Regions from separate parts of the Homo sapiens genome. Here all the other regions are linked to region 1. The links are contacts of gene promoters, found by promoter capture Hi-C in blood cells and fetal thymus (Javierre and others, 2016). All regions are on one chromosome and are shown on one strand. The core of a region is centred on a gene start or on the middle of the fragment in contact, and the rest is flanking DNA. Distances in the headings are between cores, read along the strand shown. Region 1 holds the start of GJB6 (gap junction protein beta 6). Region 2 overlaps XPO4 (exportin 4). Region 3 has its middle 23 kb from the start of LINC00367.

Region 1 (4,429 bases), core at 1,099-3,598:
TCATTCTTTTGCCCCTCCACCTCTGCCATGGGAAGACACAGCAAGAAAACCCTCGCCAGATGCGAGCATCTTGATATCAGACTTCCCAGCCTCTAGAATTCTGAAAAATAAATTTCTTTTCTTTATCAGTTACCCAGTCTATGGTATTCTGTTATAGCAACACAAATGGACTAAGACAACTAATTTTCAGTTTTCAAATGCGCATCCCATCAAGTCCTTAAGTTTTATACAGTCCACATTTAATTTCTGCTGCAACAAGACTGTCTGATGAGTAGCAAAAACTGAAGGACAGTGTTCAATGTTAAGGCCATGCAGACTAATATAGATAACCTGAACAGAAAAAGAGATATTTTACACAGTGATGAGATGGTTTCATTTTTGCACACATGAGCAAATGCAACACATTCTCTGTGACAACTTTGGTTTGAAAGTTCTATCCTGCACCAGTCCTAGAACAATTTCCACTGGTCCAGGATGTCAATGCTCAGACACAGTACTGCATGGAATCAGGTGCAGGATTGAGAACAGGGCATGCTTTAGAAAAAGCAAAAGCTATTTCCAGGACTATCTGCTATGCTGGTTCAGCTTTGCCAAGCAATATTCAAATACTCATGGAGCAGCACATACTATGAGCAAAGTACTTAGTATTGTAGAAATGCAAAAGAAGAAGAAGAGGAAGAAAAGCTTAAACTGTTTATAATCCCCAAAGAAGTTTACAATCTGCTTAGAAAAATTATTTTACTATGCAAACAGCTGAGCCTGGCTGAAGCATCTGTTTGGGAGAGGAATGGAGAGAAGACTGGGAAGTCCACAGTTAGATTGTGTGGGGCAGGACAGAGCACCCAAGATTTACCGCATAGGGCACATCTGGGCAGTGTGAGGATGTCTAACAAAAAAGCCTAGAGATGCTCGGCGCGGTGGCTCACGCCTGTAATCCCAGCACTTTGGGAGGCTGAGGCAGGTGGATCACCTGAGGTCAGGAGCTCCAGACCAGCCTGGCCAACATGGTGAAACCCAGCTCTACTAAAAATACAAAACCTAGCCAGGCATGGTGGTGCGGGCCTGTAATCCCAGCGACTCGGGAAGCTGAGGCAGGAGAATCACTTGAACCCGGGAGGCAGAGGTTGCAATGAGCTGAGATCACACCACCACACTCCAGCCTGGGCAACAGAGCCAGACTTAGTCAAAATAAATAAATAAATAAATAAATAAATAAATAAATAAATAAATTTAAAAAGCCTAGAGATTTCTGTGTCTCTCCACTCTCCAAGTTCAAGGCCATTTCAGGGGCCTCCCCAAAGTTTTTAAAACTTGACTTGGGCAAATTCTTTAAGAACCTTGTTCTCCTCAAATAAAATATTTTGGAAAGCGGATTTTTATGAAGTCTTGGCTCAAATTCCATGACCTTTAACAGACATCTTAATTGTTTCGTGGGAGAATATGACCCAACAAGTGGCATATGGTTTAGGTGGGGACGTTTAATTACCGAACAGTTTTGTAGAATAAGCAAGTCACACATCTTTTGTCCGATGCGTGACAGGTTTGAACCTGTAAAGCCAGGTGCCTAAATAGCTTCCAACGTTTCCACCCCACCAGCCCTTGCACCACTCCCTGTACTGGCCCTGAGCTTTCTAGTCTTGACTGAAAAGCGGGGAGGCAATGTGGTCTCTCCTGGTGCACTGTCCCGAGGAAGGCCTGCTCCGCTTCCCCGGAGGAGTCTTCAAAGGATGGAGGTAATTAATAAAAACAACCCCTGTACCTCCTCTAAGTGGTCATTAATTAATAAAGAACCTCCAGGCTCCTATAGGAGAGGTCTGTGCACCCCGCGGGCTATGAGAAGGCTGGATCACCCAGAAAGACTGAGGATGTGTCCTGGCAAAAACACAGCCTGCCCCTCACACTGCTCCCCACGGGTGCACTAGGGAGGAAGAGTTCCCTCGAGGGCCTGAGCAGGCGCCCCACACCTGCACCCGTGCAGAGGGGGCTGGGCCCGCCCTCTGCGCTCCCGAGGGAGAGCCCTACCCCCTGCATCCCCGGTACCCCGTTCCCTCCAAGGGCCGGAAAGAGGGCCCCGCGCACTGTGCACTTCTTAGGGGTCCCCCACCCTGCGCCCCCGCCACGGGAAAAAGGTCCCCGCTCTGCGCATCCGGCCCCGGAGGGACAGCCCCGGTCCTGCACTCCTTGCTCCTCAGGGGGACGGTCCGCGCCCAGCGGCTAGTGCGCCCCGGGTAGGTGGGGGCGGGGGGCTCGTCGAGTGACAGCGCTCGCCTCCCGCAGCCCGCCCGAGCCGCGTCAGGGCAGAGGCGGGGTGGGGCGCGGTTAAAAGGCGCAGCAGGTGGGAGCCGGGGCCTTCACCCGAAACCCGACGAGAGCCCGACAGCCGGCGGCGCCCGAGCCCGACCTGCCTGCCCAGCCGGAGCGAAGGGCGCCGCCCCGCGCAGAGCCCGCGCCAGGGCCGCCGGCCGCAGAGCAGGTAAGCGGGCGCGGACCGGCTGGGTCTTGCGGGGGGCGAGCGGGCGGTGCCACCTCGGCCCCCCAGCGGAGGAATTTCCTCCAAGAAAACAAAACAGGTGAGGTCGGCGGCTGGTCCCCACCTCGCCCCTGTCGCTCCTGTCTGGCACCGGATCAGAGCCGGCAGAGCGCGGCCGGGATGGGTGTCTGGCCGCACGTGGGGCGACCGGGCCCCCGATCTGCCTCTATCCGCACCCTCCTGTCCACGCGCCCCGGCCCCGGCCCGATGGCAGTGGGCGCCGCCCGCGCTGGACCCTCTCTCTGTACGCAGAGGAACGAGGATGGACTGGTTTGACTTTTACCCCAGCGTGGTCCCCTTTGACTTGTACAACAGGTTTTATGAAGGTTTCATATCGTGTGTCTAAGAGGCCAGAGTGAGGGCCGGTGCCCCTTTCCCCCGTTTCATTTGCTGCGTGTTGGATTTTCTAAGCTTTTGTGGGTCACCGGGGTGTCCCCTTGGATTTGGGGAGAAGAAAGCCAGGTCTAGGATGCGGGTTTCAGTTCAGACAAACCCTCAACTTGGGCCGATGCATAAGTCCCCGGAGAACCGCAGGGTATGGGCTGCGTGATGGGCTTCCGAGAAACTTGTGAAATGCTGATGACAATAGCGTGGACGACAGTAATTAAAAGTAATTGGCGACACATCTTAGTTAAAACGTGCAGGCACCAGAAGGCACTTCCTGTCGGTGAAGAAGACCTGTCTCCGGTGTCACGGGCATCCTGTGTTTTGCAAACGGGGCTGACCTCCCTTCCTGGGGAGCAGGAAGGGTCAGGGTGAGTGTGGCCTGCCCGCAGCTCTGCACTCCCGGAGGGGTTAGGGACCTGCAACCAGGCGGGGACACTGGCCCAGCGACCTCAGTGTCCCCTGGGTGGGCGTGCACTCTGTTTAGTGTCTGATTGAACGTAACCGTGCCGGGTTGTTCTTTTCCCTCAAGTAGACTTTATGCCATACAGCTATTTTCTTGCCCCAGTTCTAGCAGAATCTAACCAGTGTTCTAGAAGAAAATGTCCTGCCCCCATGCAGTCTCCTTAGAATTGCAGGGTGCTGCTCAGAACTGCTCCTGTGGAGAGCTTTGTCTGTTGTTTGGATCCAGCAGCGTCTTTGGGGGTGTTGCTTGAAGCTTGCCAAGGAGGAGAGGGGGGTTCTGAAGAGAGAACACCAGGGCTCTAGCCTGTCACATAACTGGGGGTGTGGAGAGCGCCTCATTGCCACTGCAGTGACTAAAGCTGGGAAGACGCTGGTCAGTTCACCTGCCCCACTGGTTGTTTTTTAAACAAATTCTGATACAGGTAATGATGACTTTATGCTTTTTTTCTTATGTCTTCTCTTCTGAATTCTGAGTGTTAGGAAGGAAAAGAAGTACAGAAGATCTGGCTAAACAATTTCTGTATGGCGAAAGAAAAATTCTAACTTGTACGCCCTCTTCATGCATCTTTAATTCAATTTGAATATTCCAGGTGCTGTGAGCAGTTTGCATATATTAGTTTAAATGTTAAATGGGATAAAATTGTGGGAAAGTGATTTCTGACCCAAGCTTCTTGGTCTGTGAGGGCATAACCTTCTAATGGCCACCTGCCATAGGTTATGATTTCTGTTTTAGTTGCTTAGTGCATGAGCATAGACCTGGAACCCCAGAGGGCCTGCTCCATTTTTATTCCCAGGGTCATTTAAATCTAGTTGAGCTTAAATGTTTGGAAAGGACACAGGTTTGCTTGAATGAACAAACATATATTGCTAACAAGACCCAGAGAAGGAAAGTTTAACTTAATGGAAATTAATTTTTAACTCTTTGAATTCTTAAATGATGTAAGAAACATACGTAATTGCATGAGTTTTCCATTTTTACATCTAGACTCCACAGACAGAAACGTTTCATTTTTATTGAGTTAATTTTGAAATATATGAATCCCTGACCCA
Region 2 (4,382 bases), core at 103-2,602, 600 kb before region 1:
GAGGGGAGAAGTCAGGATTTCAGAAAGAAAATGTGATATTGTGGTGTTAGGCCAATGACATAGATGTTGAGATAGCCCAGGGCGTGGTTGAGGTAGGCAGCCCTGTGGTAGTGTGAACTGCCTGCCTTGATGATCCATACTTCTTAGCTATTAAGTGCTGATTTGACCAGCTTTGTCTAGGTTTCTTTCAAAATGGAGGAACACAGTGGTAGAAGTCAGCATGAGGGAATTTTATTTTATCATTATTTTTTTAAACTGATAGAATTGCAAGGAGAGTGATGGAATTTTAAAGCACATATATGTAAAGCCCTTGTGAAGTATTTTCTTCTGTCCTCTCTTTTTTTGAATAATCAGTATTTCCTCCAACTATTGTCTATTTGTACCTGGCATTGTACCCTTTAAAAAGAAAGTAGAGGCAGCACATGGTGGCTAACACCTGAATCTCAGCACTTTGGGAGGCCAAGGCAGGAGTATGGCTTGAGCTTAGGAGTTCAAAGTTACCTTGAACTATGATTGCACCACTGCACCCCAGCCTGGGCAACAGAGGAAGACCTTGTCTCTTAAAACAGAAACAAACAAAAAACTAAGTTAAGTTTTCTGATTTTTAAAAATTATTATTTATAGAGATAGGGTCTTGCTCTGTCACCCAGGCTAAGGTATAGTGGCATGATCATGGCTCACTGCAGCCTTGACCTCTGAGTTCAAGTGGTCCTCCTGCCTCAGCCTCCCAAGTAGCTAGAACCACAGGTACACATCACCACACCTGGCTAATTTTTAAATTTTTTTGTAGGGCAGGATCCCACTATGTTGCCCAGGCTGTCCTCAAACTCTCCTGGGCTCAAGTGATCCTCCCGCTTTGGCATCCAAAAGTGCTGGGATTACAGGCATGAGCCACTGGGCTTGGCCTGGATTTATTTATTAAAGGTTTTTTTTTTTTATTTCTTTCAACACTGTTTTATAGTTTCCAGAGCAAAAGATTATTAAATTTATTCTAAGTACATTTTTTTTTTGAGACTGGGTCTCGCCCTGTTGCCCAGGCTGGAGTGCAGGGGTGTAATCATGGCTCTTGGCAGCCTCGACTTCTTGGGCTCAAGCTATCCTCTCAACTTCAGCCTCTTGAGTAACTGGGACTATAGGCACGCATCATGATGCCTGGCTGATTTTTGTAGGGGTTGAGTTTCGCTGTGTTGTCCAGGCTTGTGAGTATTTTTTTATTATTCAATTGTAAATTGTTTTTTAAATTTCATTTTCACACTATATAGAGAAAAATACAAATGATTTTTGTATGTTGATCTTGTATCCTGTAATCTTGCTGAACTTGCTTATTAATGCTAATGAATTATATACATAATTGTATTATCTGCAAACCATTATATTTGTTAAGGATTATTATATGTAGCTTTTCTATGTGCAGCAGGTGATTTATGAAAGTATCCACCTACCCAGACCCAGTGGTGCAAAGTCCACAGTTTCTGTGATTTGGTAGATGTTAAAAATCACTCTGTGGCCCAGAGAGCGAATTCCTCTGCACTTTGTAGCCCCATGTTACTCTGAGACTCTGGAGACAAAATTCACTTGCTTCTCATTCTGTTTTAGATCACTGTTGTGCAAAGAAAGTGTCCTGGTCCTGTGATCCTCCATCATACCATCATCCCCATTTGATAGTGGGCGCTGGGGTCCGGGGCGGTCTCATCACCACCTCCCTCTCATAGCTCTTCTGGTAGAGCTGCACTCACAGGCCAGCTTTCCTTCTACCTTGTTCCTTGCACACACTGCTTCTCTGCCTGGGTCCTCTCTCTTTGCCTGATCACCTAATTGTACTTCAGCCTAGACCAGGTTGGCTTTCTTTTGCTATTTTCTCCCTATGCATGTTGTATATGATTTTTTCCCCATTTGGCTCCCTTCTCAGCTGTAATTTTTCATTCCTTAGATTATTTAAGTACGGTTAGCCCTCCAGGTTTGTGGGTTCCACATCCTTGGATTCAACTGAGGATCAAAAATATTATAACTAAAAAATAACAATACAACAATTAAAAAAATACAAATTTTAAAAACAGTGCAACAATGTACATAGCACTTACATGGTATTGGGTATTATAATTAATCTAGAGGTGATTTAAAGTATATGGGATGTTTATAAGTTACATGCAAATATGATGCCATTTTATATCAGAGACTCTGGATTTATATCAGAGCATCTGTGGATTTTGGTAACCATGGGAGGTCCTGGAACCAGTCCCCCTCCGGATATTGAGGGACAACAGTAGTGTCTGTTTACCTACTGCGCGAAGCTCCGTGAAAGCATGGGCCATGCTTTTGCTCACTGCATTGTTGAGCCCTAGCACAGATGCTCAGCAAATATTTATTATTATATATTTATTATTTAATTATTGAAAGAAGCCCGTTCAGAAGTATTAGCTCAGTTTTCGGATGTTTGTTCACTATAAATATAGTTCGGCTAGTAGTTCACCTGGTGTTCATAAATGCTTAAGGGTTTTGGCAATGCTAATCATAAATGACAATATCATTTTGTAACAAGAATGTTTGGCAGGTATGTGTGGTATGTTGGCTTCAGTGATACTTCTTTTTTTAGTTTGGTTACACTGCCTTTTATTGGTATTCTATTTTTGTGGATCTGATTTGGTTTTGGTAAACTTTTTTTTTTTAACTTAATCTCTTGGAGAAAGCTAACTGGATTATAGAGTAAGTAATGGGATACAGAAGCTTTCACCTAAATTGGATTTCCAGTAAAGCCAACCTTTACTATTTGGAGGCAAGGCTTGGGAAAACATTCAGGTAAGGTCACTCATGTATTTCAAAGGATTTGTGGTTGCTTGGACTGTGTTGTCTATAAGACTGGGGTTGTTGGTTCTGTGCTGTGCCAGGAGAAGTAGCAGTTTTTGTTGTTAGAAAATTTAATAATGAAAGGGATTAAATATTTAAGAAAGAAAATGGTCTTGCTGTAGCTCCTGAAACTTTGTTTTACTGATGAAGTAGGGTAAAAAATAGTATGGAAAGATGAAGGGAGTAAAGCATTTATTACTTATGTGAAATGCCCATTGTTGCTACAAGATCTTTCTATATTGTAAAGTAATTATAAGAATAGGCAAAGGAAATTTTCAGATTGTCCATATTTGCTTGAAGATAATGTGTAGCTACTGTATGCCTTATTTAATTATTTTTTTGAGTGTCATTCACAATCACAAAACGATACCCTTACTGAAAGTGTTAGTGGATAAACTTAATTGCATAATTACGGACCTGTGTATTTCCAGAGATGATGTTTTCCCCACTACATGTTAAGATGTACGTATTTAATGACAATGCTGTTTGTTGTATGAGAACTTGAGACAGAAGATTTAGTAGGATTATCCAGTGACAGTCAGTACAGGGTGCGATTAAGCTGTCCTTCTGGCTCTTGGCCTGGTATATGTTTGTCTCTGGCCATGCAGTTACAGAATAGGGCAGGTGGCATGTTTATATATGCCTTTGATTTCACAGAAGTTGGTGAGCTTTCCTAAGTGGAGAATTTTAGAGCTAGATAGGATTGTTGTGGGAGAGGGGGCAGGGAATGGAGAGTTGATTCTTCACTCTTCTGTGGTGCAGTTGAATTTACATGTAGCTGGAACTGATTTTCCAAGGGATTATGATGGCAATGAGCTTAGAAGATTGGTTGGGTTTTAGCACTTCAGAATTGGATCCCTTGCCGGAACCCTTGCTAAGAGGGAGTGGACTTGTATTTGGTACAGAGACCAAAAAAAAAAAAAAAAAAAAAAAATCACTGTACTAAATGTCCTGATTCTTTAATTTGGTGAGAACATGGATGGGAAGGTAAAGTAAGATTAGATGTGTATGATAGATTTTTTTTAAGATAAAGGGTTAGCAAAAGACTGAAAGCAGCTCTGTTTGGCTTTCTTATTGATGGAATTGTGTTTTGTTTGGTTACAAATGAATTATTCTGATAAAAATATAAATTGCATGCATTCAGTATTTATTTTAGAAAAATATATAAAGCCATAGCCCAAGAAAATTCTTGAATTACACTCTTATTTGAACTTCGGTGAAGTAATAGCTATTTAGTTCCAATCTTTTGTGACTTGTGTGTCTCATAAAATTTGACTAGCATGTAATAAAAGACAGTTTAGTAAATAATCAGTTCATTGTCAAACTGTTCTTTCGTGGTGACATATTTGTTGTAAAAGATAAAACAATGTAATGTGCAGATATTATAAAATGCTAAAGTGGTGACTATAAACCAAACTTTTGAAAGTTTTAAAAGGAAACTATTGTTTTATTAAAATTATTTTTAAATGAACATCTTGCTTTATTTAACCTTGAAATTATTTTTAAAATATTGCTTTAAGAATAGTAGTGCTAGATTT
Region 3 (4,336 bases), core at 1,837-4,336, 690 kb before region 1:
GTGTGGTGGCACACACCTATGGTCCCAGCTACTCAAGAGGCTGAAGTAGGAGGATTGCTTGCACCCAAGAGGTTGAGGCTGCAGTGAACTATGATCGCATCACTGCACTCTATCCTGAGCGACAGAGCGAGACCCTGTCTCAGGGCAGCGCAGGGCAGGGAATCAATCTCACACTTTTACCTCATCATTTATAGATGTAAATGATATTTAGGAAAAATAAAAGAGAAAAATTTCCTTAGCTCATCAAAAAGCCTTATAACGTTTAGTCCTTGGACAATCAGAGATTTCAAGTGCTATAGGAATCAATGTGATTTTTAAATTTTTAATTACATTTTAAATTTAATTAATTTTAAGTAGTTTTTAAATTTAATTAAATTTTAAATATTTTTTAAATTTAAATTTTTAAATTTAATTAAATTTTAAATTTTTCATGTGATTAAAAAAATTTTAACAACAAGTGATTGTTTTTTCAAAGTCTGAAGAAGAAGCTAATGTTATGTGACATTTTCTTGTGTAAGTTTCAATGATGTTTACAATTTGTCTTTGATGATTGTGCTTTATTTCTCCACGTGGGGATCTTGTTCCTTATCTTAGTGAACTGAAAAGAGTTTGAATTGGTATTGTCAAGGCATAGATTTAGTAAACCCCAGCTTCTCAGTTCCAGTAGAGAAAGTGAGCAAATGAGGAACTCAATAACTGGTGCTAAAGATAAAAATAATTTAAAGAAATTTCCCTCAAAACATTATTATTTTAGGCCGGGCATGGTGGCTCATGCCTGCAATCCCAGCACTTTGGGAGGCCAAAGTGTACGGATCACTGGAGCTCAGGAGACCAGCCTGGGCAACATGGTGAAACCCCATCTCTACAAAAAAAAAAAAATACAAAAAATTGGCCAGGTGCGGTGGCTCACGCCTGTAATCCCAGGACCTTGTGAGGCCGAGGTGGGTGGATCACGCAGTCAGGAGATCGAGACCATCCTGGTCAGCACAGTGAAACCCTGTCTTTACTAAAAGTTCAAAAATTAGCCAGGCGCGGTGGCGCACACCCATAGTCCCAGCTACCCAGGAGGCTGAAGCACGAGAATCATATGAACCCAGGAGGCGGATGCTGCAGTGAGTTGAGATCGCACCACTGTACTCCAGCCTGGGTGACAGAGCAAGACTCTTGTCTCAAAAAAAGAAAAAAAAAGTTAGCTGGTCATGGTGGTGCACACCTGTGGTCCCAGCTAGTGGGAAGACTGAGGTGAGGATTGTTTGAGCCCAGGAGGTAGAGGTTGCAGTGAGCCGAGATTGTGCCCCAGCCTGGCAACGAGATTGTACTCCAGCCTGGGCAACAGAGTGAGATCCTGTCTTAAAACAACAACAACCAAGAAAACACACATACATTATTATTTTAATTTTTTTTTTTTTGAGACGGAGTTTCGCTCTTGTTGCCCAGGCTGGAGTGCAATGGCATGATCTCTACTCACTGCAACCTCTGCCTCCCAGGTTCAAGCGATTCTCCTGCTTCAGCCTCCCAAGTAGCTAGGATTGCACCACCATGCCCAGCTAATTTTGTATTTTTTTTAGTAGAGACAGGGTTTCTCCATGTTGGTCAGACTGGTCTCGAACTCCCGACCTTGGGTGGTCCGCCCGCCTCAGTCTCCCAAAGTGCTGGGATTACAGGTGTGAGCCATGCCCAGCCTATTATTCATTTTTTTAAAGAGACACTGTCTTCCTGTCACCTAAGCTAGAGTATAGTGGTGCAATCATAGCTAACTGTAGCCTCAATATCTTGGGCTCACCTCAACCTCCTGAGTAGTTAGGACTACAGCTGCACCATCGTGCCTGGCTAATTTTCACATTTTTTGCTAGAGATGGGATCTTACTATGTTGTCCAGGATGGTCTCAAACTCCTGACCTCAAGTAATCCTCCTGCCTTGGCCTTCCAAAGTGCTGGGATTACAGGTATGAGCCACCACACCCAGCCAAAACATTAGTTTTAAACTATCCAGTGGATGCCCATTTTTCATATAACAGTTTCCTCTTATTATATTACTGATTAATTCAGATAACTAACCTGTAGCACTAACAATAACATAGCAGCTGTTATTGATACAGGAGCTAGAAAGAAATTATTTAGGCAGATAGTGAGGGTAAGAGTCCTCAGCAAGGCTTTCCTTTTAATGAAAAGCAGCCCCCAAATCGTTTGTTTCCTAACAAAGAGCAGCCTGTAAAATTGAGCTGCAGACATAGACAAGCAAGCTGAAAGCTTGCACAGATGAATCCCTGCAGCTGTGCTAATAGGAGAAAGCTACCTGGGGGCCAGGCATGTGCAACATGGAGGATCCATCTTCTCTTTTCTTTGTCAACCATGTGTGCAGTAAAGAAGCAGGCAACAACGTGGTGCTGGCCAGGTAGAAACCTCATCTTCATGATAAAAGATTAGGGTGAGATGGTCAGCTTCTTCACACACTATGCTGATTTAAATGATTCAGAGATCATTTCAATTTTGCAAATGGCACACCTGGTTCAAGCAATCTCTTGTGCTTATGTTTGTTTGAGACGGAGTCTCGCTTGGTCGCCCAGGCTCGAGTGCAGTGGCGCGATCTCGGCTCACTGCAACCTCCACCTCCTGGGTTCAAGCAATTCTTCTGCCTCAGCTTTCCGAGTAGGTGGGATTTCAGGCGCCTGCCACCACGCCCAGCTAATTTTTGTATTTTTAGTAAAGACAGGGTTTCACCATATTGGCCAGGCTGGTCTCGAACTCCTGACCTCGTGATCCGCCCGCCTTGGCCTCCCAAAATGTTGGGATTACAGGTGTGAGCCACCGCACTCAGCCCTCTTGTGCCTATGTAAATCAGACATTGCCTCCTCAAGCTCGTCCATAAAACCCCACACATGGCCAGCCGCGGTGGCTCCCACCTATAATCCCACACTTTGGAAGGCCGAGGCGGGCAGATCACGAGGTCAGGAGATTGAGACCATCCTGGCCAACATGGTGAAACCCAGTATCTACTGAAAATACAGAAAAAGGAAAAAAGGTTTTAGAACTCCCTGAATGGAATTTAGTTGTTCTGCTCTCTTCCATGCATATCTTTTTCAGAGATCAGTTAAATTTTGTTGAGTAGATTTTTTTGCATGTTTCTCTTCTAGGTCACGGGAGTTTATACTATATAAATGTAAATAGATAACTGTTGCAAGTCATTTCTTTGCAATAACAGGTTACATGATCATAGTTGAAACAAAAACAGATACTAAAACAATAAGAGAGCATGCAGAAATATTCTGATGCAAATGTATTTGATGATTTGATTTCCTTCACTCTGGAATATACTACAGAATGTACTAATATAAATGTGCTTGCCTATGTCTAATCTAGAATATAATTATCCTGAACTCTACATGGTATTTTAGTCTAGAAAGTACTGTAGCTTCTCTGAGTTCTAAATCAAACCAGGAAACAGCAGAGGGCGCTGGTGCTGTGCTTTTGCAAGTGAGATGTGTGCTCATTTCAAGGGTCCACAAAATTTTCTGGCATGCTGTTTCCATGGAGAGGAAAGTAGGTGTTTTCTTTTTCTTTTTTTTTTTCAGTCAAGCCACCTGCAAACTGCAATGTGTTCTTTTAGTGATTTCTTTTTATATCTATGTTTTCCAGGAAGGTTCTGTTGAGCCTACGCAGTCACTTAGAAACAAGAAATATTTGAGAAATTTCTATGAAGTCAAATATGCATTATGTCTCCCACTCTCCAAAATATAACAAAACAAAACAAAACAACTAAACACCCTTGAATGGTATGGCTTACTCTGTTCTTGAACCATATGAGCACCTACTGTTTGTTGATTCCATGTTAAACCAACAAAAAGATACTGAGCAGGCTTATGTTCAATGTATGTATTGAGCACCATTTTGCGCATATCAAATGCTTGAAACTGAAGCTTGAAATGTCAGTAAACTCCACAAGGGGTCTCTACATAAACTTTTTTTCTTTCTTTCTTTTTTTTTTTTTTCAGATGGAGTGTCGCTGTCGCCCAGGCTGGAGTGCAGTGGCACGATCTTGGCTTACTGCAAGCTCCACCTCCCGGGTTCACGCCGTTCTACTGCCTCAGCCTCCCAAGTAGCTGGGACTACAGGCGCCCGCCACCACACCCAGCTAATTTTTTGTATTTTTAGTAGAGATGGGGTTTCACTGTGTTAGCCAGGATGGTCTCGATCTCCTGACCTAGTGATCTGCCCGCCTCAGCCTCCCAAAGTGCTAGGATTACAGGCATGAGCAACCGCTCCCGGCCTGGTCTCTACATAAATTGATCACAAGTTTTTGTAGAATAACAGTATAAAAAATAGTATAAAGCACATA

The links. Contacts are between HindIII fragments. The CHiCAGO score rates a contact against its expected background, and 5 or more counts as called.
Region 2: a fragment that was not itself captured here is called in contact with the fragment with the promoter of GJB6 in region 1 in 1 of 17 cell types (total CD4 T cells); the score reaches 5.8 in total CD4 T cells.
Region 3: a fragment that was not itself captured here is called in contact with the fragment with the promoter of GJB6 in region 1 in 1 of 17 cell types (fetal thymus); the score reaches 5.4 in fetal thymus.

The regions. Positions count from the first base shown.
Region 1 is chr13:20,230,238-20,234,666 of GRCh38, reverse strand. It overlaps GJB6 (gap junction protein beta 6), which reads left to right and starts at 2,348. Exons shown (of 5, transcript NM_001110219.3): 1 at 2,348-2,473; 2 at 3,162-3,285; 3 at 3,860-3,969. The HindIII fragment of the contact is 2,257 bases long and covers 687-2,943 here.
Region 2 is chr13:20,831,201-20,835,582 of GRCh38, reverse strand. The region is part of intron 6 of XPO4 (exportin 4); the gene reads left to right. Among named protein-coding and RNA genes, the nearest start is that of EEF1AKMT1, 59 kb to the right of the region's middle. The HindIII fragment of the contact is 2,748 bases long and covers 1-2,726 here.
Region 3 is chr13:20,924,108-20,928,443 of GRCh38, reverse strand. No RefSeq gene overlaps it. Among named protein-coding and RNA genes, the nearest start is that of LINC00367, 23 kb to the left of the region's middle. The HindIII fragment of the contact is 1,667 bases long and covers 2,253-3,919 here.